3 separate regions of the Homo sapiens genome follow, and regions 2 and 3 are each linked to region 1. Evidence: promoter capture Hi-C in human tissues and cell types (Jung and others, 2019). All regions are on one chromosome and are shown on one strand. The core of a region is centred on a gene start or on the middle of the fragment in contact, and the rest is flanking DNA. Distances in the headings are between cores, read along the strand shown. Region 1 holds the start of LRRTM1 (leucine rich repeat transmembrane neuronal 1). Region 2 overlaps CTNNA2 (catenin alpha 2). Region 3 overlaps CTNNA2 (catenin alpha 2).

Region 1 (4,471 bases), core at 1,124-3,623:
TAGATGAAATGATTTGCAGGATAATAATGCAAAAAGCAATATATAGAAAATATATATTTATATATAATATATATATATAATTTATTTATTTTAATTACAGCCTAGGAGCATCTTGTAAGTTTTGAGTAGCACACTTAGAAGAAAACTCACATATAAATCAGTGAATTTAATTTTATTCCCTTTCTTTCTTGCCAACACTCAACTCTTCTGCCTCTCTGCACCAGCTCTACAAATCAAGTGACATCCAAAGTGGGACCTCTTCTTGCCCATTTGGCAGCCTCTGTCACCACTTTGCCAAGCAGCCAGCATTAGGAGGATTTTTTTTTTTCCTAGCAACCCTAGGGATTGGGTGGTGTGTACTCACAGTACTCGCTGAATGGCTGGCCGCTGTTTAACCCTGCGGGTGCCTCCTCAACACCCCTCCCCCACCTCCCAACCCTTTAGAGTTTATGGCTCCATCAGCTGGCCTGCTGTCACGAATAATTGTCTTGGCAAGAGGTGAAACCACTTGATGGTGAATTTGTTTGTCTGTCTGTTAAAGTGTTCCGCAGCACCTTGGAGGTGCCAGGATGAAACATGCAAATGCCTGATCCAGAGTTAGGTAGGCAGCAAGAGTGACAGAGAGGCAATCATCAAGAATGGCAAATTAAGAAAGAAAGAAAGAGAGAGAGAGAAAGAAAGAAAGAAAGAAAGAAAGAAAGAAAGAAAGAAAGAAAGAAAGAAAAGAAAAGAAAAGAAAAGAAAAGAAAGAAAGAAAGAAAAAACCATCTGTGCCAGTTGCAAGCTGTATGACCTTGGATAAACCATGATGTCTCTTGGCCTCAGTTTAGTCACGTGCAAAATTAAGGGGGTTGATTTTCTAATGTCTCTTCTAACTCCTAAGACAGCATGTGATGTCTAGGACATTTCAGATTTGTGTTCCTTCCAATTAAATGATACATCTCAGAGATGAATGACCAGGGCAGAGCTCAGATGAATACAAAATGGAATGATTCATGCCCCTGTTCATATGACTTTTCCTGAAAAGTACCACCAGTCTTTGGTGACTTTGATTCCATTGGTTGGCCTCTTCAGCTTAGATGCTAAGGACCAATCCAGTTACTTGTCCAGTCTATCTACCCTGGCTCTGGTAATCCACCCTCATTCCTATCAAAGTAAGTGCCACTACATATAATGCCTACTGATTTTGACTTCCTTAGAGGCAGAAACGATGGGAATTCAAACAGTGGAGCTGGAGACTCACATTTGACTCTCCCTACCATCTCCCTGGGCATCTTTGTCAAGAAGGAAGGCTTGCCCACACTCACTTCCCGCAGGCTTTCTCAGCCATCTTGGAGGACTTTGTTTAAACAGATGACCAACTGACCCTCCCCAGGGCAGACCCTCTACAGACCAGTAGGCACAAGGTGTGTGTGTGGGGAGGTGGGGGGAGAGCTCATTGTAAGGACTCCTATCTATAAATGATTATGAATAGAAATAATGAGGCAAAGGCTTCTCGTCATACTCAGAGGAAAAAGTGGCACAACTTAGTGCAGTCTCAAAGATTAATTAGGATGTGTGTATGGAGACGGGTAGGCTTCATTATGGCTTAAACTATCACGTCCCTACACATTCACACTCTCTTGGAGTGGGGTGCACTGCAGGGCCCAGTAATCACCATGAACAGCACAAGTCAGGGTAAGCCCTCCCCATGTCAGACAGTACAATCGTTCTTTAATCCACTCTGTACCCCATATGTATCTGTGGAGCCTGATGAAGCCCCGGAGGGATCTCAGTCAAGTCTCCCTGCACACAGACATACCTTTTTGCCACACTGGATCTCACACCACCGGGACTTGGATGGCTTCCCAAACTAGGTGGGTTTGGAAAGCATTTCCCCTCTCCACCTCAAAAAAGGGCTGGCTGACTGCAGAATTCCAGTACCCGCAAGAGGGGGAAAAAACCCCAAAAATCTTAGCCAAGCCCCAAATCATTGCCTTCCTGTGTCTTCTCTCAAGTTGCTTTTCTAAAGCAAAGGTCCAAACGTTGATTTCTCTACAGATTCCTACGTATCTCTTACACGTAGACAGTTTTAAAGGGGAAAAGAATATATCCCCAAAAGGCAAGGGGGAGAGCACAGAACATTTCAGTTTCCCACTTGGAAATATCTTGTCGTGGATGATGCTACCCCTACCTCCACCTCCCTCCCCCCTCCTTTTTTTTTTTTTTTTTTTTTTTGAAATATGGACAAAAAAGCTGAAAGTGTTTTCCGTTTCATCAAAAAACATATATTACTTTAGTGGTTCGGTAAAATGTTGGTTTTATGCCCACCCCTTTTCAATCTGCCCATGTCTGAGGTGCTCGGGGAAGACGCACAATCGTGAGCAGCTTACGACACTCAGTGAGCAGTAGGTGCCTGTGCAAGCTCGCGCCGCACACTGCCTGGTGGAGGGAAGGAGCCCGGGCGCCGCTCGCCGCTCCCCGCGCCGCCGTCCGCACCTCCCCACCGCCCGCCGCCCGCCGCCCGCCGCCCGCAAAGCATGAGTGAGCCCGCTCTCTGCAGCTGCCCGGGGCGCGAATGGCAGGCTGTTTCCGCGGAGTAAAAGGTGGCGCCGGTCAGTGGTCGTTTCCAATGACGGACATTAACCAGACTGTCAGATCCTGGGGAGTCGCGAGCCCCGAGTTTGGAGTTTTTTCCCCCCACAACGTCACAGTCCGAACTGCAGAGGGAAAGGAAGGCGGCAGGAAGGCGAAGCTCGGGCTCCGGCACGTAGTTGGGAAACTTGCGGGTCCTAGAAGTCGCCTCCCCGCCTTGCCGGCCGCCCTTGCAGCCCCGAGCCGAGCAGCAAAGTGAGACATTGTGCGCCTGCCAGATCCGCCGGCCGCGGACCGGGGCTGCCTCGGAAACACAGAGGGGTCTTCTCTCGCCCTGCATATAATTAGCCTGCACACAAAGGGAGCAGCTGAATGGAGGTTGTCACTCTCTGGAAAAGGGTGGGTAAGACACTTTTTAATTAAATTCTTTCCCGAAGATTTTTTTTTTCCTCCCTTTTCTTTGCTGCAGCATCTAACATGGACCAAATCACCATCTCTTTGATCTTTCCGTGGCTGTGAACTTTCTATGCTGCCCAGCTTTCTGCATGCTTAGAGGTGAACGTGTGGTTTTTGGGGAGGGGGGTCCTTCTTTATTTCTATGTATTTATTTGATTTTTTGCCCTTTTCTCCCCCTCCCCCGCTTCCCCTCCCTCGGAATAAAATATGATGTAGATTTCTGACCGAGCGCTTCCAATGGACATTCTCCAGTCTCTCTGGAAAGATTCTCGCTAATGGATTTCCTGCTGCTCGGTCTCTGTCTATACTGGCTGCTGAGGAGGCCCTCGGGGGTGGTCTTGTGTCTGCTGGGGGCCTGCTTTCAGATGCTGCCCGCCGCCCCCAGCGGGTGCCCGCAGCTGTGCCGGTGCGAGGGGCGGCTGCTGTACTGCGAGGCGCTCAACCTCACCGAGGCGCCCCACAACCTGTCCGGCCTGCTGGGCTTGTCCCTGCGCTACAACAGCCTCTCGGAGCTGCGCGCCGGCCAGTTCACGGGGTTAATGCAGCTCACGTGGCTCTATCTGGATCACAATCACATCTGCTCCGTGCAGGGGGACGCCTTTCAGAAACTGCGCCGAGTTAAGGAACTCACGCTGAGTTCCAACCAGATCACCCAACTGCCCAACACCACCTTCCGGCCCATGCCCAACCTGCGCAGCGTGGACCTCTCGTACAACAAGCTGCAGGCGCTCGCGCCCGACCTCTTCCACGGGCTGCGGAAGCTCACCACGCTGCATATGCGGGCCAACGCCATCCAGTTTGTGCCCGTGCGCATCTTCCAGGACTGCCGCAGCCTCAAGTTTCTCGACATCGGATACAATCAGCTCAAGAGTCTGGCGCGCAACTCTTTCGCCGGCTTGTTTAAGCTCACCGAGCTGCACCTCGAGCACAACGACTTGGTCAAGGTGAACTTCGCCCACTTCCCGCGCCTCATCTCCCTGCACTCGCTCTGCCTGCGGAGGAACAAGGTGGCCATTGTGGTCAGCTCGCTGGACTGGGTTTGGAACCTGGAGAAAATGGACTTGTCGGGCAACGAGATCGAGTACATGGAGCCCCATGTGTTCGAGACCGTGCCGCACCTGCAGTCCCTGCAGCTGGACTCCAACCGCCTCACCTACATCGAGCCCCGGATCCTCAACTCTTGGAAGTCCCTGACAAGCATCACCCTGGCCGGGAACCTGTGGGATTGCGGGCGCAACGTGTGTGCCCTAGCCTCGTGGCTCAACAACTTCCAGGGGCGCTACGATGGCAACTTGCAGTGCGCCAGCCCGGAGTACGCACAGGGCGAGGACGTCCTGGACGCCGTGTACGCCTTCCACCTGTGCGAGGATGGGGCCGAGCCCACCAGCGGCCACCTGCTCTCGGCCGTCACCAACCGCAGTGATCTGGGGCCCCCTGCCAG
Region 2 (4,471 bases), core at 1,428-3,927, 250 kb before region 1:
TTTAGTCATATAAAAAAGACATTGAGACAAATTATACGTTATCTATTTAAGGGCTCTTTACTGGATGAGGCTTCTTTCTCATTCTTCCTACACTTCCGACTTAAAATTAGTCATGCCGAAGTAACTTAGACTGTGGATAGTCCTTCCTATCTCTAATACTTAATAGTTTGTCTTCCCAATAAGCTGCCCCTACCACCTCCTTCTGACATCAATCTCATACTCCAGTCCCCCATATTCCAGCCAGAGAGATAGGCAGGTCACTCAGACCTGTCCAATCATAAAACTCTATTCCACTAGCAACAGAAATCAGTCCAACTGAAGGAAGCATAGGCCAGAAAGCCAATCAGATGATTTCCCATTGATACACAGAAATTGGTCTTGAGCTGCAAACCTGAGGCTGCTGGTAGACATATTTTCTACAGAAAAAAAAGACAAAGTGTAAAGTTCTCATTTTTGGTATTCATTTAATCAATACTTACGTATTAAATGTGTTACTGAAAACACCATTCTAGGCTGTGGGTACCTATAGAAACACTTGCCTCTAAAAACAGACAATCCTGTTGTAAGCAGTCATTTACACTGAAGAGGACATACCATACTAAATGTCAAAAGACTAATAGTTTTCTGTGGTCTCCAACTGAGACTAGAGCTATATTTTAAAGGTGAATCTCAATAAACAGATGTAAAGCAGGAGGAGGAGGAGATGAAGAACGTTGCAGGGAGGACAGAGGGAGCAGCATGGATATGTTTTGCCTGGAGAATAATGAAGGCCCTCGTCCAGATGGTGCAGAGGGTTTATACAGGGGACTCATGGGCAATAATTGCTTATGCCAAGTGCAGTCACCAGGAAGCCAGAAACAGTGATGCATATATTACGCAATTAATACCGACCCATTCTTGAATGACAAAACATTGGGCAATACAGGAAAAAACCCAAGTCCCAGAGGCACTAACTGATTTGTTTAAGGTCACAGTTAGTTGGTAGCAGTCAAATAACAGTTCTTCTGAATCCTAACCTTGGATTCATTCTACTGCATTGTCCTGGCCCAAATGTACCCTCTCAATAAGATTTCCAGTTTGGATGCTTTGTATTTGTTGGTCCTTTTATACTTTCTAAGCAAAAATATATAGAAATGTTGTAAAACGAAAAACCTTCCCATTCGTATAAAACTTTAGGTTATAGAGCATGGAAGTAAAAATTATACCATCTGCTTGGCCCACGTATTTTCCAAAATAATGGAATTTTAATCTCTGCATACAGAGTGCTCCATAACATAGAACCCTTTTTAAAATATGCTTTTTTCTTTTTTTTTTTTTTTTTTGGTCTATTGTTTCCTCTGAAGAAAAAATATCTGGCAGAATCTCACAGATCTTTTAACCTAGTCACGCTCACATGGCCACAAACTTGAGTCAGCTATCAAATTTACAAAAATGACATTTCAATATAATCCATTCAGTGAAGAATGAGCTACTGTATGTGTGTGTATATATATATATAAATATGATATCGCTGAATGTGCTTTCACCCCTCCTCAGCCTCCTGCAGCAACCCAACTTTGTAAACGAGATCTATGAAGATGGGTCTGGTCAAGCGTGTACTTACTACTAAGCTGTTTGGCAATTTGTTATAATTCAGGTTTTATTGAAGAGCCCATCAAATATGCCATGTAAGTATTTAATGGGTCTGCTGTAGATCCAATTTATTGTGTTTTCATCAGCCTAGATTGTTTTATAGAAAATGAACAGGTAAATTTGTACATAATGCTACCCTATAATTCTTAGCATACTAATAATCTACAAAATTTTCTTAAATTTAATTCAGCATTCATATCAAGACAAGAAGCACTCTTAAGCAAAGCACTGTCTTTACTAAGGAAAGAAAATAATTCATGGAAAATAAACCACAGATGTGTTATCACTCTTTGGGCACCTCTCAATTTTCCAGCCACTCAGCGAGGGCAGCCAAGTGGTAAAGTGGGAGTCTCCCTACAGTGACCTACCCATGCAGCCATTCATCTGTCTACACAGGGGTTTGCCTGTGTGTAAACACCTTCAGCAGCAACATCCAGTTCAGTCAAGGCTGTTTGATTATTCTGCCCTTTTACAGATTCTTCTTTGTAATATACTCCCAACCCCACTCCCTTTTCACTATGTCCACAGTACATGGGCTCCAATCTGTCCTGTTTGAACTTGTCCCTATTTTGGGTTATTTCTTTACTTTAGGGCAGTAATGCTCAGTGCACATTATTTTGCCCACCAGGACCCACTTCCTTCAAGGATATCTGGCAATGTCTAGAGACATCTTGGTGGTTACAACTTGGCATGTAGAAGAAAGAGATGCTACAAACATTTAGCAGGTGGAGTCCAGGGATGCTTCTAAGCATCCCATAATGGACAAAACAGTCCCCAGAACTCTCCCCAAGAAACAACTGTTCAGACCAAAGTGTCAACAGTACAGAGGTTGAGCATGTCTGACTCAAGGTCTTGAATCTAATGGCACAGAATTTTTTAAAAATAAAATATCAAACAAAAAAATCAATGGGCAGAACCTAGTAGGTGTGGCAACAACAACAACAACAAAAACCATGACATTTTGTCTTCTTTCTCCTCATCTTTCCTCTTGGCATTTTTCCCTTTTTTCCCACTACCACCCTCTCTCACCCTACAATGTACTCTCATGACAAAATTTGATAGATTCACATAGAAAAGTGGCCAATTCAACATGGCTCTAAAATTGTTTAAGTCAGAAACAAAACTAAGCAAAAGGTAGATAATTTGGCATCAGGGACATGCACAGGGTTTCTATTTTGAGGACATATATCTTATGTCTCCTTAGCACAGACATACAATGACATTAGAAGTAAATCACTTTAGACAACATATATATATACACACACACACACACACACACATATATACACACACACACACACCAACAAAACTTTGTACAACCATAATTACAGAACTGATCCTGTGGTCATCCTCAAACTCCACGTGTCTACTTTATGCAAGCACATTCCCCAGCAATTCTCATTAGCAGTCAGTGAGTTAATAGCTGAAGTTTTTTTCTTTCATTTCTTTGGCAACCTCTCTAGTTATTCACAAAATAGTAACATTATTCCTGTTTCAGAAAGAGAAGAACAATTGGGGACAAATACCAAAGAAATTGTATACCTTTGTATTCTAGCTCTTAGTCCACTGACACCCACTTTTCCTTGACACTTATTCCTATATTTTCAATTAAAGTTATATATAAGCTGTCTATTTCAGTCTCTGCCTGGTTACTTTCCTAGTTAACTTCAATAAATCCTGAAAAGTAGAATTTAAATGTCCTGCTCATCTACCGTATTCAATTAGGAATTGGATATGGGCATCAAAATAAGAAAGGTGCCTTTAGTTAAGCCCCCAGAGTGCTCAATCATTGCAAGCCAGGATAAAAATTGTAAAAACTCAGAACAAGTAAGAGCAAAAATCTTGATTAGCAACAACAATCCAGGATGAACGACTATTTGTTTTTTTAAAAGTAGAAAAATCAACCAGAACATTATTTACATATCAAGACTTTGGGTGAAAATTATGTTAAAATATTACAATCAACTAAGCAATTGTCCTTGCCTTTAGATTTTGACCTAGTAAGTGGCACTCCTGTTGTCAAAGCAGTCCAAGATACAATAAGAAAAAGTTCTAAAATGTCATTTGAACAGTGCCTGAGTTATCTGTGGGTAGAAAGTCACATGAAAATTGGCAATATGCTCTGTATCTTTCATCTGCCACAAGTGTCCTTCCCACCAGTCATGAGTGGGCAGGAACTGAGTCCTGTCTCTAGGTCTTCAACACTTCTCTGGTATTATTTATCTAGTGACAGACCCAGGTGAGTGTTACTCTGTCAGATATCTCACATGAAGCTGAGACTTTGTACAAGAATAGAGCTGATGGGCTGGGAACTGTAAGCCACAGAAATGTGAGATGGTCTCCCTAAAGGTTACTAATGAAAAAGTCCTTAATTTGGAGAATTAGGGAAAAAAATACCTTTTTATAACTCTTCCAAGTGAGGAAAGAAATACTGTATGGCTTGCTTTGTGTTGCTCAATTGAATGCAAAGGGCAAGCTTATGTGAAAGAAAGCAGTGCTGACTCTCAGCTAATTCAAATGCAGTCATATCTTGTCATTATTTTTGTTATTATGTCTAAGTCTAAGTCTGTAAGGATGTTCCAAGGGCAACAGTCTCTAGATGTGCTCTTTATAACATGATACCACACTATTCTGTTTCTGCTTATATTTTAAAGAGAATGACCAATACCTGTGTTTATGTATTGTGTTTTACTTGCTATTCCAGGCTAACAAATACCTACAGAACTCTTTGTAAATAATCTTTTCCCCATAAAAAGCAACATATTTCTACCAACACATCTCATCATGCAGAACTTGGAACATGGCTATATCTGACCTTTCAGAGATGGCTATTTTAAAA
Region 3 (4,471 bases), core at 771-3,270, 230 kb before region 1:
ATATCATGGAGAGGTAAACTATCCATCCTGCAAGATTTATTTTACGATTGCCTGTTTAGCACTACTTTCTAGATGCTCAATGAATATAACTTTTTTTTTTTTTTTGGCTCTTCTGGGCACACTTTGTAAGTACATGAATACTTAACATTAACAATATCATTAGCAGAACTAGAAAGAACAACAACAACAACAACAAAAAAAAAAAAGCAAGGAGAGCCTATGCCTATTTTTTGAAGAAAGTAACTTAACTCCATTAATTGAATTTGTATTACAATTGGCATCTATCCTGTAACTCTTTAATAATCACCTCAGGAAGCCAAAAGCAGAGTGACAATATTCCTGATAAGACAGTTAAAAATTGACAAAAATAACTCAGGAGGCTGAGGTACAAGAATTGCTTGAACTGAGGAGGTGGAGGTTACAGTGAGCCGAGATCGCTCCACTCCACTCTGGTCTGGGCAACAGAGTGAAACTGCATCTCAAAAAACAAACATATGCATCCCTCATAAAAATACATTGTGACCCAATCGCTACAAAGATAATAAAATAATACCTAGGAATACAATTTTCAAGGGATGTGAAGGACTTCTTCAAGGAGAACTACAAACCACTGCTCAAGGAAATAAGAGAGAACACAAACAAATGGAAAAACAGTCCATGCTCGTGGACAGGAAGAATCAGTATCGTGAAAATTGCCATACTGCCCAAAGTAACTTATAGATTCAATGCTATTCCCATTAAGCTACCATTCACTTTCTTTGCAGAATTAGAAAAAACTACTTTAAATTTCATGTGGAAACAAAAAAGAGCCTGTATAGCCAAGACAATCCTAAGCAAAAAGAACAAAGCTGGAGGCATCAGGCTACCTGACTTCAAACTGTACTACAAGGTTACAGTAACCAAAACAGCATGGTGCTGGTACCAAAACACACATATAGACCAATGGAACAGAACAGAGACCTCAGAAATAACACCACATGCCTATAACCATCTGATCTTTGACAAACCTGACAAAAACATGCAATGGGGAAAGGATTCCCCATTTAATAAATGGTGCTGGGAAAATTGGCTAGTCATATGCAGAAAACAGAAACTGGACCCCTTCCTTACACCTTATACAAAAATTAACTCAAGATGGATTAAAGACTTAAATGTAAAACCCAAAACCATAAAAACCCTAGAAGAAAACCTAGGCAATACCATTCAGGACATAGGCATGGGCAAAGGCTTCACGACTAAAAAACAGCAAAAGCAATAGTAACAAAAGCCAAAATTGACAAATTGGATCTAATCAAACTAAAGAGCTTCTGCACAACAAAATAAACTAGCATCAGAGTGAACAGGCAACCTAAAGAATGAGAGAAAATTTTTGCAATCTACCCATCTGACAAAGATCTAATTTCCAGAATCTACAAGGAACTTAAATTTACAAGAAAAAAACAACCCTATCAAAAAGTGGGCAAGGGATATGAACAGAGACTTCTCAAAAGATGACATTTATGCGGCCAACAAACATATGAAAAAAAGCTCATCATCACTGGTCATTAGAGAAATGCAAATTAAAACCACAGTGAGATATCATCTTATGCCAGTTAGAATGGCGATCATTAAAAAGTCAGGAAACAGGGCGGGTGTGGTGGCTCATGCTTGTAATCCCAGCACTTTGGGAGGCCGAGTTGAGTGGATTATCTGAGGTCGGGAGTTCGAGAACAGCCTGACCAACATGGAGAAACCCCACCTCTACTAAAAATACTAAATTAGCCAGGTGTGGTGGCACATGCCTGTAATCCCAGCTACTCAGGAGGCTGAGGCAGGAGAGTTGCTTGAAACCAGCAGGCAGAGGTTGCAGTGAGCTGAGATCATGCCATTGCACTCCAGCCTGGGCAACAAAAGTAAAACCCCGTTTCAAAAAAAAAAAAAAGTCAGGAAACAACAGATGCTTGCGAGGCTGTGGAGAAAAGGAACGCTTTTACACTGTTGGTGGGAGTGTAATTAGTTCAACCATTGTGGAAGACAGTGTGGCTATTCCTCAAGGATCTAGAACCAGAAATATCATTTGACTCAGCAATTCCATTACTGGGTATATACCCAAAGGATTATAAATCATTCTACTATAAAGACACATGCACACATATGTTTAATGCAGCACTATTTACAATAGCAAAGGCATAGTACCAACCAAATGTCCATCAATTATAGACTTGATAAGGAAAATATGGCACATATACACCACAGAATACTATGCAGCCATAAAAAAGAATGGGTTCATGTTCTTTTCAGGGACATGGATGAAGCTGAAAGCCATCATTCTCAGCAAACTAACACAGGAACAGAAAACCAAACACTGCATGTTCTCACTCATAAGTGGGAGTTGAACAATGACAACACATGGACACAGGGAGGGGGAACAACACACACTGGGGCCTGTCAGGGGGTGGGATGCAAGGGGAGGGAAAGCATTAGGACAAATACCTAATGCATGTGGGGCTTAAAACCTAGATGATGGGTTGATGGGTGCAGCAAACCACCATGGCACATGTATACCTATGTAACAAGCCTGCACATTCTGCACACGTATCCCAGAAGTTAAAGTAAAATGTATAGTGACCATTTAAAAAGGCAAGATGTTTTTTAATCACACAAAGAAAACCCCACACAGCTCACAGATCTTGATAAACTACATCGTGGCTGTACAATTCAGTTTTGTGTGGACACCGCCACAGAAAAGCAGCTCTGTCTCAAAAGAGCCACAGTCTTGTTTGAACACTCACAAGAAAAGCCAAAATGCCTGGAAGGCTGAGCTTCAATTAGACATTAAAAACCTCTGCTAATAAAGTATTTAGGCATTTAACTCCAACGTGATATGAAGTACATCAGAAAAATGAGAACATTTTCCCTTTTTCTGGCCTCGGAAATCAAATTACATTTTTTAATATTTGTGATTCTGTTCTGTTTGAAACACCAGCAAATATTCACTGCATTCAACTCCCAAACACTGAATCATTTCATTAATTTTTACAGCTTCAGGTATCATATTGGTGTTTTAAGAACACACTATTGAAATAAAGCAGAATAGCAATTCGAAGGTCCATAAAGCACTTGCTCCTCATGTTAATATTTCATCATCACTGTAAATTTGAGAATAAAATGAATTTATTTAAATAAATTCAAGGGGAATTACTTGAATTTATAGTCAGTCATGTGGCCATATAAAACCACAGAGAGGATGGTGGCACAGATTTCACGCAAAACATTTTTCTCTAAAACTATCATCACAATGAAAAGTGCTGCGGTCTCCATCTGAAGGTTTATTCATTTATCTGTGCTGATGTAATTAGTACACACGAAGATGTTAACATATATGCCTATCTTCTAGAGAACCACAAGGTTCCTACAGAACATGACTCCTATAATACAGATGGAGTTTCACAATTCAATAACAGTGGAAATGATAAACCTCCCTGAAACCTTTGAGAGGCAAGACAGAAGCAGCTGGTAGAAAAACAGGCTCAGCCTTCGATGATCAGCTTCCAGGAAGATGGGCATAGGAATAGGCTAAATGGCCACCATCAAAATTGGACTTGAGGAGAGTCAAGTCTGGCTGCCCAGAAGAATATTGTAGGAGTTGTCTCGCTTTCCTGCTGAGGTATTATGGAATCATTTTAAAATGAGCAGCTACACACTGGCATAAGTTTATCAGCCTGATTAACAGTCACTGCAGTTCTACAGGATAGAGGAAACTTAAACAGCAGGGATAATTTGATCAGGGAAGGATGCTCAGTGGATGTCAGCAGCTGGGGGCTTAAGTACACTGGGGGACAGGAGGAAGTGGAATCACTTTTTCTTGCCTCTGTTTTAAATGACCTCTATAAGGCATCTGGCACTCTTGGTCATTCTATATAGTTTAATTTTAAAAATCATAATTGGTAAGACCTGGCCTTTGCAGTCAAGCAGCCCAGGGTTTATGTTCTGACTCTTATTCTCACCAGCTGGGTGAGACGTGTTGCATCTCTGAGCCTCAATTGTGTCTCAGTTATAAAATATAAATATAAAATATTACAATGTTGCAATAAGAGATTAGTTAACCCAGCACCCAGTAATGACTTGACAAATGTTACCGCCATAAGATGCAATTTATTGAAAGGTCACTATAAAAGTGAAAATATATTTGAATGACATTATCCAATCATTGATCACTCATTCAATAAATATTGAGTGCCTATATATGACAGACATGGAAGATACAAGTAAAATATTACTTATGCCCTAGATGAGCTTATATTTTGGTGGGAAGACAGAATTTAGCAAAGTAATGCATTAAAAGTTTATATTGTGATGAGTTTTACAAAAGAAACAAGGGGAAGACAATGATAAAAACCGAAGGGAGCTCTATGTGATCACTTGCGTAGTTTACCCCTTAGTTTTGTATAAAGTTACAATTCTCAAGTTATAATTCTTTTTGTCACTGCTT

Evidence for each region. Contacts are between HindIII fragments. The study calls those that stand out against the background at their distance.
Region 2: a contact is called between a fragment that was not itself captured here and the fragment with the promoter of LRRTM1 in region 1, in 4 of the 25 tissues and cell types used here (H1 embryonic stem cells, IMR-90 fibroblasts, heart right ventricle and 1 more).
Region 3: a fragment that was not itself captured here is called in contact with the fragment with the promoter of LRRTM1 in region 1 in 3 of the 25 tissues and cell types used here (H1 embryonic stem cells, heart right ventricle and pancreas).

Annotation. Positions count from the first base shown.
Region 1 is chr2:80,302,654-80,307,124 of GRCh38, reverse strand. It overlaps LRRTM1 (leucine rich repeat transmembrane neuronal 1), which reads left to right and starts at 2,373. Exons shown (of 2, transcript NM_178839.5): 1 at 2,373-2,973; 2 at 3,247-4,471. The coding sequence starts at 3,306. The region is part of intron 7 of CTNNA2 (catenin alpha 2); the gene reads right to left. RefSeq lists an enhancer at 2,931-3,556. The HindIII fragment of the contact is 15,461 bases long and covers 1-4,471 here.
Region 2 is chr2:80,556,906-80,561,376 of GRCh38, reverse strand. The region is part of intron 12 of CTNNA2 (catenin alpha 2); the gene reads right to left. Among named protein-coding and RNA genes, the nearest start is that of LRRTM1, 250 kb to the right of the region's middle. The HindIII fragment of the contact is 9,339 bases long and covers 1-4,471 here.
Region 3 is chr2:80,535,047-80,539,517 of GRCh38, reverse strand. All of the region lies in intron 9 of CTNNA2 (catenin alpha 2), which reads right to left. Among named protein-coding and RNA genes, the nearest start is that of LRRTM1, 230 kb to the right of the region's middle. The HindIII fragment of the contact is 4,505 bases long and covers 1-4,272 here.